2 separate regions of the Homo sapiens genome follow, and region 2 is linked to region 1. The links are contacts of gene promoters, found by promoter capture Hi-C in blood cells and fetal thymus (Javierre and others, 2016). All regions are on one chromosome and are shown on one strand. The core of a region is centred on a gene start or on the middle of the fragment in contact, and the rest is flanking DNA. Distances in the headings are between cores, read along the strand shown.

Region 1 (4,650 bases), core at 1,524-4,023:
TACAGCCACACCTCTCTGCCCTAGTCTCCTGCCCCCAGGAGCCTGGCCTCATATGCTCCCCACCACGCACAGCTGACCCCGCCCCCTCCCTCTTCTTTTTTTTTTTTGAGACAGAGTCTCACCCTGTCGCCCAGGCTGGAGTGCAGTGGAGAAATCCCGGCTTACTGCAACCTCCGCCTCCCAGGTTCAAGCAATTCTCCTGCCTCAGCCTCCCAAGCAGCTGGGATTACAGCCATGTGACACCACACCTGGCTAATTTTTGTATTTTTAGTAGAGACGGGGTTTCACCATGTTGGCCATTGCTGGTGTCAAACTGCTGACCTTAGGTGATCTGCTTGTGTCAGCCTCCCAGAGTGCTGGGATTACAGGTGTGAGCCACCGTGCCCAGCCCCCTCCCTCTTCTTAAACAAGGGGCCTGGCAATCACCACCCCTGGGTGACTTGGTGCAGTCCCCTGATCTCCCGAGACTCCCTGAGCTCATCTGTAAACGGAGCAGGGAGGTGCCTGCAGGATAGGACTCACAAGCACAGAGTGGATGCAGGGAGGGGGGCCCCTCGGGGCTGCACCCCAAGCCAACTTCATCCTGCACTAATGTCCATCGGGGTTTTACCTCTGATGAAGGCTGGGGCCAGGAGCTGGGGGCTCCCCGGGGTCCCTCAGCAGCCCTCCACCCCCACAAGACCTTCAGTCTCCACTGTGTCCAAAGAAGGGGTGCCCTGGAGCCCTAGAGGCCCGGAGGGTGCTCGGGGCCGGGCCACGAGGGAGGCTGAGCCATGGAGCTCCATTTGCACCTTTATGGAAATGAAGTTTTCTAAGACTTTGACAAAAGGGCCCTGGAAAGGGTGCCAGCTGCCAGCCAACGACCACCGCAGCCCCTCCTGGGGTCCCAGGCAGGAGTACCCAACCACGGAGGTCACAGCTGGGAGCACCCCTGGTTGCCCAGGGTCTGAGCCTGAGGAGAGGCAGAGCCACTCAGGGCTGGGAATGGGGGAGAAGCGACCCCCCGCATTTAGCCACCCCACCCCCACCTCCTGGGAAACTGACCCTAGAGTGTTCAAGGTCGCCACTGTGGCCACCTGCCTTGGAGGAGTTCATGGGAAGCAGCCATGGGGAACCCTCCCGCCCCCACCACCCTGCCCTGGCTCCCTGGCCTGCTAACATGGGCTGGGGCTGCTGGGGTCCCAGACAATGGAGGGCAGCGTTTCTGAGCCTCCAGATGACAGTCCCAACCCCGCAGCCCCAGCCGGGCTGGTGGGGAACTCTATACCCCCGACCCCTGGCCCCTGCTGAAAATGTGGAAAATGTGGACGAGTGAGTGAGCAGAGAACATGGGCAAGGCCCGTCCTAGTGGCTCAGATAAGCTCAGGAGGAGGCGCTGGGTCCTTGCCGCACAGAAGCCCCTCCCCAGCCCAGCACGACCTTCTCCCTCCCTGGCCCGGCCGCCCATCCTGCAGGGCTCCTCGTGAAGCTCCCCTTCCCTGGAGGAGGGGATCCGGCTCCTCCTGTGGCTCCTGGTCTCTGTGGCAACAAGATGCCAGGGAAGGCCCAAGGTCCTGCCCTTCAGGCGAGTGGGAGCCAAGGGGCCCGACCTCCTGAACTGAGGGTGGGGGGTTAAGAAACTGCAGAGACCCCCAGCAACCAGGGCCTCCGTCCCTCAGGGGCAAGGTGGCTGGCTGTGCCTGCCCACCCTGGTCAAGTGGAAGGGCACCTGGACAGGCGTGGCCTCCTGAGCCGCCCTCTGGGGTCCGCGCCTCCGGCCACCCCCCTGGCAGAGCCCAGCTGGGTCGGGTACTCACCAGCCTCCGCATGTCAGCCGCAGGGGGCTGGACCCAGCTGCGCAGGCGGTTGTGCAGGGAGAGGAGCAAGAAACTCTCCTTCCTGTTCAGGGCTGGGGTGGGGAGAGAAGGTCAGGCAGCCCGAGGATGGGGGGACCTGAACCCAACACACGGCAGAATAAGCATGTGTCCCTGCCCTTGGAAAACAAGATGGGAGAGGAGTGTGGTGGGTGCAGGGGACGTGGGGCATAGCAATGGAGCGAGGCTGAGAGAGAGACCAGGTACAGCAGGCGTGGGCTGAGTGCTGGGGTTGGGGTGGCGGGAGGGAACAGCGGTGCGGGCTGGGTGTAGGGGCCAGCCCTGGCTCCCGCAGGCCCCTGTCTGGGGCTCCTCCGGGCCACGGATTTCTCCAGGCCCCAGCCACAGCGCTCCTCGGCGTTCCTCCTTGACCCCAGCCCTGGTCCTCCTTCCTCCTCCTTCCTCCTCCTTCCTCCCCAGTCCAGCATCCACCCCTCACCGCCCCCGGGCTGTCCCAGGGCTTCCTCATTAAACCACCCGCACGGCCTGGGGCTCAGGCCTGGGACCGGGCTTCCAGAAGTCTCCTAGCACCCACTCCTCAGAGCTCATAATGGTGCCTCCACCTACCTCCTCACCAGGTGTCCCTTACCTCCGGCCATCGGAGCCTGCTCCTGCAGCTGGGGTGGCCACACCTCTGCCCAGGTGGTGCCAAGGAGGGCCAGGAGCACAGCCAGGAGATGCCCCCGGCCAGGGGAGGTCTCTGGATGCAGCATGGGTCTGTTGGGCCCGTCAGGCGCTCCGTGCACAGCCTGGCTCAGCCACCCGGCTTGTTTCTCAGGCTGGATGGAGCTATTCACAATCTCCAGGAGTCAGGCTGGGCTGGTGGACAAAAGAGGGGGGCTGGTGAACAAAAGAAGGAGGCTGGTGAGTGAGTAATCAGTGTGTCCAGACAGCCTCCTGTTGGCGCTGGCATGAAAAGAGACAACTCCCGGGGATGCCTGCCTGCTCCGGCCTCGGCCTGGCCAGCCCGCCCCCGACAGCAGGCAGAGTGGCGTGCACTGCCCCGCGGCCCCTGCTAATCATTGTGGGATTATTAGCACCCTTGGGGAGCCCCCAGAGACCCCGCTGATTGGCCTGGGGACATTCCGGTGCTGCAGATTAGTGACCGATGGCCGTGTCCTGGCTGGGACAGTGTCCTCCGAGCCCACTGATGGCTTCCGCTCCCCAGCCCCGGGCCCTGGGAGGAGGACCTCGGCTATGGTCCTTCTGGTGAGCAGGAACTGGGCAAGACCCCAGGGGAGTTCTTTCCTTTCTTGGGAAGCTCGTCCCAACCCCCCAGCCATGAATTAAACATAGGCAAGAGGTAACCGCACACCAGAGGGGTGCAATCTGTGGGCTCAAAGGGGGGTGGGCTGAGGCCGCACCTGCACGAGGAAAAGGGTGCCTTAGGAAAGTCTGTCTGGGCAGGGTCGGGGGCTGGGCCCAGCCCCGGTGCCCACCACCCTCACCCACGTGACTACAGGCCAGGGGGGGAGTGAGGCAGGAGGAGTCAAAGCAGGCGGGGACCAGAGCACGTGATGCCCTGGGCTGACTCCAGTCCTGCTGGGATCACGTCCGCCTCTAGAAAAACAGGCGGCGTAGCAGGTGGGCAGCACGTTGCCATGATGTGCCGTGGCCCGGCCGTGGCTGGCGTGATCCCACCAGAGTGAGCTGGAGCAGATCTGCACCATGGGCCAAGTTTCTCAGAAAATACATGGCTTCCTGCGGGCTGCAGCCTAATGCCCACGTTCCTCTCGGGGCAGACCGAAGGTTATTCAACCAGGGCAAAGGACAGCCTTGCAAACCAACTACGTCCTCCTTCTGGAGTTTGTGTGACCCCTGGCCCCTGAGCCCACACCCTCTCGGAGCGGGGTTCCAACTCCGTGGAAGCTCTGCTGAGATGCAGGTAGGGTTGGCTTTCCTGGGGAAACACCAGTGGAATGTGGCTATCGTCATGGGTGCCAGGGATGGGGATGAGGCCAGGCATACAGGCCATGAAGGCGGTCTGGAACTGCATGTCCCCCACAATACCTAGGGGCTCAGGAGTTTCTTCTCCCTCAAACAGAAACCCAGCACCCTCAGGGTCACTGCGTGTGGGTCCTAGCAATGCTTAATAGCTACCTGTTTTTTGATGTATTTTTATTTTTATTTTTTAGACAGTTTCATTCTGCCACTCAGGTTGGAGTGTTATAATCTCAGCTCACTGCAGCCTTGACCTCTTGGGCCCAAGTGATCCTTCCACCTCAGCCTCCCAAGTAGCTGGGACCAGGTGTGTGCCACCATGCCTGGCTAATTATTATTATTTTTTTTGGTAGAGACAGGATTTCATCGTCTTGCCCAGGCTGGTCTCCAACTCCTGGGCTCAAGGGATCTTCCCACCTTGGCCTCCCAAAGTGCTGGGGTTGCAGGCATGAGCCACCACACCTGGCCGAGCCACCTGTGTTTATGGAGCTCACAAAGCCTGTTTGCATGTGTGAGTTCAAGTTATTGCCACAAGAACCTGGTGCAGTAGCAGATGGGATGCCCGTCGTGTAGATGAGGAAACGGGCTTAGTGTGTCTAAGGGGCTTGTCCAAGGTCACTCAGCGAGTGCATGGAGCATCCCAGCTAATCCAAGGTCTCTGCCTTCCCATTCCCAACGCTTTAATTCACATCCTGATCTTTCCCAGTGCAGTTTCCACAGCTCTGCTATGCCGGGTGATAAAAGACCCACTTCCTACAATTGGGCTTCCATGGCAAACACGGCCAGTTGACCCATATAGTATGATGCCAGGCACTTGGGACAGGCGGGAGAAAAAGATATTTTGGGGATTAGGGTG
Region 2 (4,941 bases), core at 2,055-4,554, 200 kb after region 1:
CAGGTGCGATGGCATGCGCCTGTAATCCCAGCTACTCGGGAGGCTGAGGCAGAAGAATCACTTGAACCTGGGAGGCAGAGGTTGCAGTGAGCCAAGATCATGCCACTGCACTCCAGCCTGGGTGACAAAGTGAGACTCAGTCTCAGGGAAGAAAAAGAAATTGTTTAGACTACTAAGCTAGGACATTGGTGACTTCATATTGACAAGACTTAAGGGATTAAAAATGAAATAACAGGCCAGGCGTGGTGGCTCATGCCTGTAATTCCAGCACTTTGGGAGGCTGAGGCAGTGGATCACTTGAGGCCAGGAATTTGAGACCACCCTGGCCAACATGGCGAAACCCCGTCCCTACTAAAAATATAAAAAAATTAGCTGGGCATGGTGGTGTATACCTGTAGTCACAGCTACTTGGGAGGCTGAAGTGGGAGGATCACTTGAGCCTGGGAGGCAGAGGTTACAGCAAGCCGAGATTACACCACTGCACTCCAGCCTGGGTGACAGAGTGAGACCCCATTTCAATTAAAAAAAAAAAAAAAGAGTAACAAGTAACATATTTCTAGACACCCCCACATTATCCAGCTAAGAGACCTGAACTTGTCTGTCACAGCAACCTCAGTGACTGTCTAGACGAGAATCTAAGACTCCTGGAGAAGAAAAACTCACCCAGCATTCTGATCTGTAGACAGTAGAGACCGGACTGTAGTTTGAATATTACTTCCTTTATGGCAATTTGCCAGTTTGCAGGAATATCATGTCTTTTGGAGAGGGTCTCAATCAGAGAAACAAATGTTAGCATTTGATATTTCGTTTACTTCCTTGACTCAAGGGCAAGTGACTCCTGTGAGCTGAGGGGGTAGCATACTGTTTGCCTAGTGAAATACCATCTCTCTATCTCAAGTCAGGACATCATCTTCAAGAGAGGAACTGGGGTCATCGCTAACTCTGGAGCTTCCACTGGGGTACAAGTGAGGTGTCAGAACTTCACTGAGCTTAGATTCCGTGGCAATTTCCCATCTTCCCCCCTACCCTGTCACCCTTTCTCATGTTAGGCCCTCATTGTTTCCCATATGTTCCTGCACAATCTAACCAGCAATTTTTTGTACCAGGCTTATGAGAAAGGAGGAAGCCACATCATCACTCAACACCCCCTCCATAGCTCAAGCCTGGGAATTCCCCTGGACCCTCCTGGAGGCACTCTTTTTAACTCTGGTGACATTTCTCTTAAATGGGAGGGTCTACAGGCATTGGAGTTTGAAGGCAGAGCATAACCATTTATCCAGGGCAGGCATCCCCTTCTTTATTCCAGGAAATAAGTGGCCTGCCAACTTCCCACTTACAACTTTCATTAACCAGCAGCTTATCCAACTGTTGGCAGCTCACACAGAGCTGGCTTAGGTAACAAAAGTGCCAGTTTTTTGTTTTTGTTTTCTTTTTTTGAGACAGTCTTGCTCTGTTGCCCAGGCTGGAGGGCAGTGGTACAGTCTAGGGTCACTGCAACCTCTGCCTCCCAGGTTCAAGCAATTCTCCTGCCTCAGCCTCCCAAGTAGCTGGGATTACAGGTGCCTGCCACCACGCCTGGCTAATTTTTTGTATTTTTAGTAGAGACGAGGTTTCACCATGTTGGCCGCGCTGGTTTTGAACTCCTGACCTCGTGATCCACCTGCCTTGACCTCCCAAAGTGCTGGGATTACAGACGTGAGCCATCGTGCCCGGCCATTTTTTTTTTTTTTTTAACCCAAGCATCTGTTCAGTGATGTCCTGAACTTTGTTTCCCCCTCAGCCTTCAACTCTCCCTTTATCCAAATCCAGATATTTAAGTTGGTACCTATGTTCAGCCTCTAAGGAAGCCTTTCTGCTGGGTGTCTGTAACTGGATAAACCTGTTATTACTCCTCAGGGACCAGCGTGGGTTCATGGCACTCCTCACATCTCGACAGTAGACTCCTTATTCAGCTGGCCCTGCACCCTGCTTTCTAGAGCAAGCCCAACAGCTCCTCCACCTTCCTCCTCTCTTCAGCTGACCTTTCCGATGACCACTGCTGGGCAGTTCTAGCCCATGTGTCATAGCCTCTTCTATGAACCCGTTTTTTCTTCTATTGGACAGTGGGGTTCCCAGCCTCAGCACCCAGAAAACTACTTGAAGACTGTAGTGCCACATCATGAGTATGACTGTCTGCTTTGTTGTAATTTTCAATGCAGAAGAAATAATTTGTGGGGGCTTAGCCTAGGGTGTTCTGGAGACAGAGCTATGAAGAGTGAAAATGAGCTTTCACCCAGGCTCTCCAACTCCTGCTTTGCTGTTGGTAACACAAAGTATAGACTGGGAAGACGAGGACATATAAAATTTAATTAAATACCATCTGTCATTTTCCTTTATTAGGATTTTTTCTTTTTTTTTTTTTTGAGGTGAAGTCTTGCTCCCGTTGCGCAGGCTGGAGTGCAGTGGCGCGATCTTGGCTCACTGCAACCTCCACCTCCCAGGTTCAAGAAGAAGCTGGGGCTGGGTGTGGTGGCTCACGCCTGTAATCCCAGCACCTTGGGAGGCCAAGGCGGGCAGATCACGAGGTCAGGAGATCGAGACCATCCTGGCTAACACGGTGAAACCCCATCTCTACTAAAAATACAAAAAAATTAGCCGAGTGTGGTGGCAGGCGCCTGTAGTCCCAGTTACTCAAGAGGCTGAGGCAGGAGAATGGCGTGAAGCCGGGAGGCAGAGCTTGCAGTGAGCTGAGATCGTGCCACTGCACTCGAGCCTGGGAGACAGAGCAAGACTCCGTCTAAAAAAAAAAAAAAAGAAGCTGGGATTACAGGTTTACGCCACCATGCCTGGATCATTTTTGTATTTTTAGTAGAGACAGGGTTTCACCATGTTAGCCATGCTGGTCTCGAACTCCTGACCTCAGGTGATCCATCCTCTTTGGCCTCCCAAAGTGCTGGGATTACAGGCATGAGCCACTGCACCCAAGCTTTATTAGTATTTTTAACCTGTTTCTTCCCCCGTAAGATAGAATAATAATATGTATTCCATAACATTAAGAATTACTTATTAGTAATATATATTTACTAAGATGTTACTTAATATATTAGTAAACCATAAAGAGATAAAACAGAGAGTGTTACCAACAAACATAAGTTGACTAAGAACAAGGACAAACAAATGTCTATTTTTAGAATTTTGGCCAGACATGGTGGCTCATGCCTGCAATCCCAATGCTTTGGGAGGCTGAGGCGGGAGGACTGCTTGAACTAGAAGTTTGAATCCAGTTGGGCAACAAAGCAAGACCCCCGTCTCTACCAAGAAAAAAAAAGCAAAAAAAAAAAAAAATTGGCTGGGCACAGTGGTCCACAACTACAGTCCCAGTTACTTAGGAGGTTGAGGAGACAGGATTACCTGAGCCCAGAAGTTTGAGGATGCAGTCGAGATAGGATAGTGCCACTGCACTCTAGCCTGGGTGACAGTGAGACCCCGTTTCTTAAAAAAATTTTTTTTCAGAATTTCACTTATAGTCAATCACTGACACGGAAAACAAAAAAAGGGTACTGTGAAAAACAAAAACAATGGTGTTGGGTTTTGTAATTTGGGGTTCACTTCTATCCTAGGACCTCTGTCATTTTCCCTTAGAGCACCAGGCTCCATGAAGTTAGTAAGCTTATACCTATGGATTCAGTTCTCCTGGAATCCAGTATACTCCATTTGCTGTTCAGCTGGAAACTGGAAAACATTTTCAGCCTTTCCAGCCTAATTCCAGAGCACCATGATTTATGGCAACGAAGATTCTTGAACTCAAACAGAACAAAGAAACTGAGGCAGGTGGCCAGAACTGTACTGAGCAGGAACCCTGAAACCCATACTTGCCCATTGCTGCTGCCACGGTCAGAAGTGCCACCAATGACTAAAAGAAATAAAGGGAACAAAAGTCCTCTCCTCCTCTCTCTTCCTCCCACTTTAAAGTCTCCTGGATTCAAAGAAACTAGCAGGAAGCCAGCAGACAAGTCTGGGAAATGTAGATCCCTAGATCTGAGAGTAAATAGACATAAGACCAGGACATTTTTTTTTTTTTTTTTTGAGACGGAGTCTCACTCTGTCACCCAGGCTGGAGTACAGTGGTGCAATCTCAGCTAACTGCAACCTCTGCCTCGCGGGTTCAAGCAATTCCCCTGCCTCAGCCCCCTGAGTAACAGGTGTCCGCCACTACGACCAGCTAATTTTTATATCATTTAGTAGAGATGAGGTTTCACCTTGTTGGCCAGACTGACCTTGAACTTCTGACCTCAGGTGATCTGCCCACCTTGGCCTCCCAAAGTGCTGGGATTACAGGCGTGAGCCACACGGCCAGGGCACAGGGTTCTTAAGAGGCAAACACATCGCTTTCCACTGGCAACAGCAAAACAGAACCGCAAGCTAAAGCCTCAACCACTTCATTTGTGTGAAAAAGAGAAAATCTATGGCTGGGTGAGGTGGCTCATGCCTGTAATCCCAGCACTTTGGGAGGCTGTCAAGATGGACAAATCACTTGAGGTCAGGAGTTGGAGACCAGCCTGGCCAACATGGTAAAACCCCGTCTCTACTAAAAATAGACAAATAAGCCAGGCATGGTTGCAGGCGCCTGTAACTCCCAGGTACTGGAGAGGAATGAGGCAGGGGAATCGCTTGAACCCGGGAGGCAGAGGTTGCAGTGAGCTGAGATTGAACCAGTGCACTCCAGCCTGGGACAACAGAGTGAGATTCAGTTAAAAAAAAAAAAAAAAAAAAAGGCCGGGTGCGGTAGCTCACGCCTGTAATCCCAGCACTTTGGGAGGCTGAAGCAGGCAGATCACAAGGTCAGAAGTTTGAGACCAGCCTGACCAACATGCTGAAACCCGTCTCTACTAAAAATACAAAAATTAGCCGAGCATGATGGCGCACACCTGTAATCTCAGCTACTCAGGAGGCTGAGACAGG

What was found. The method cuts DNA at HindIII sites, captures the fragments that hold promoters and counts their contacts. A CHiCAGO score of 5 or more calls a contact.
Region 2: a contact is called between a fragment that was not itself captured here and the fragment with the promoter of CLEC18B in region 1, in 3 of 17 cell types (endothelial precursors, M1 macrophages and erythroblasts). The highest score is 10.3, in endothelial precursors.

What each region holds. Positions count from the first base shown.
Region 1 is chr16:74,418,705-74,423,354 of GRCh38, forward strand. CLEC18B (C-type lectin domain family 18 member B) reads right to left here and starts at 2,774. Exons shown (of 12, transcript NM_001385193.1): 1 at 2,443-2,774; 2 at 1,797-1,888. The coding sequence starts at 2,566. It overlaps LOC107984827 (a long non-coding RNA gene), which reads left to right and starts at 3,416. Exons shown (of 3, transcript XR_001752253.3): 1 at 3,416-3,738. The HindIII fragment of the contact is 28,054 bases long and covers 1-4,650 here.
Region 2 is chr16:74,616,245-74,621,185 of GRCh38, forward strand. No RefSeq gene overlaps it. Among named protein-coding and RNA genes, the nearest start is that of GLG1, 12 kb to the left of the region's middle. RefSeq lists an enhancer at 4,517-4,941. The HindIII fragment of the contact is 683 bases long and covers 2,964-3,646 here.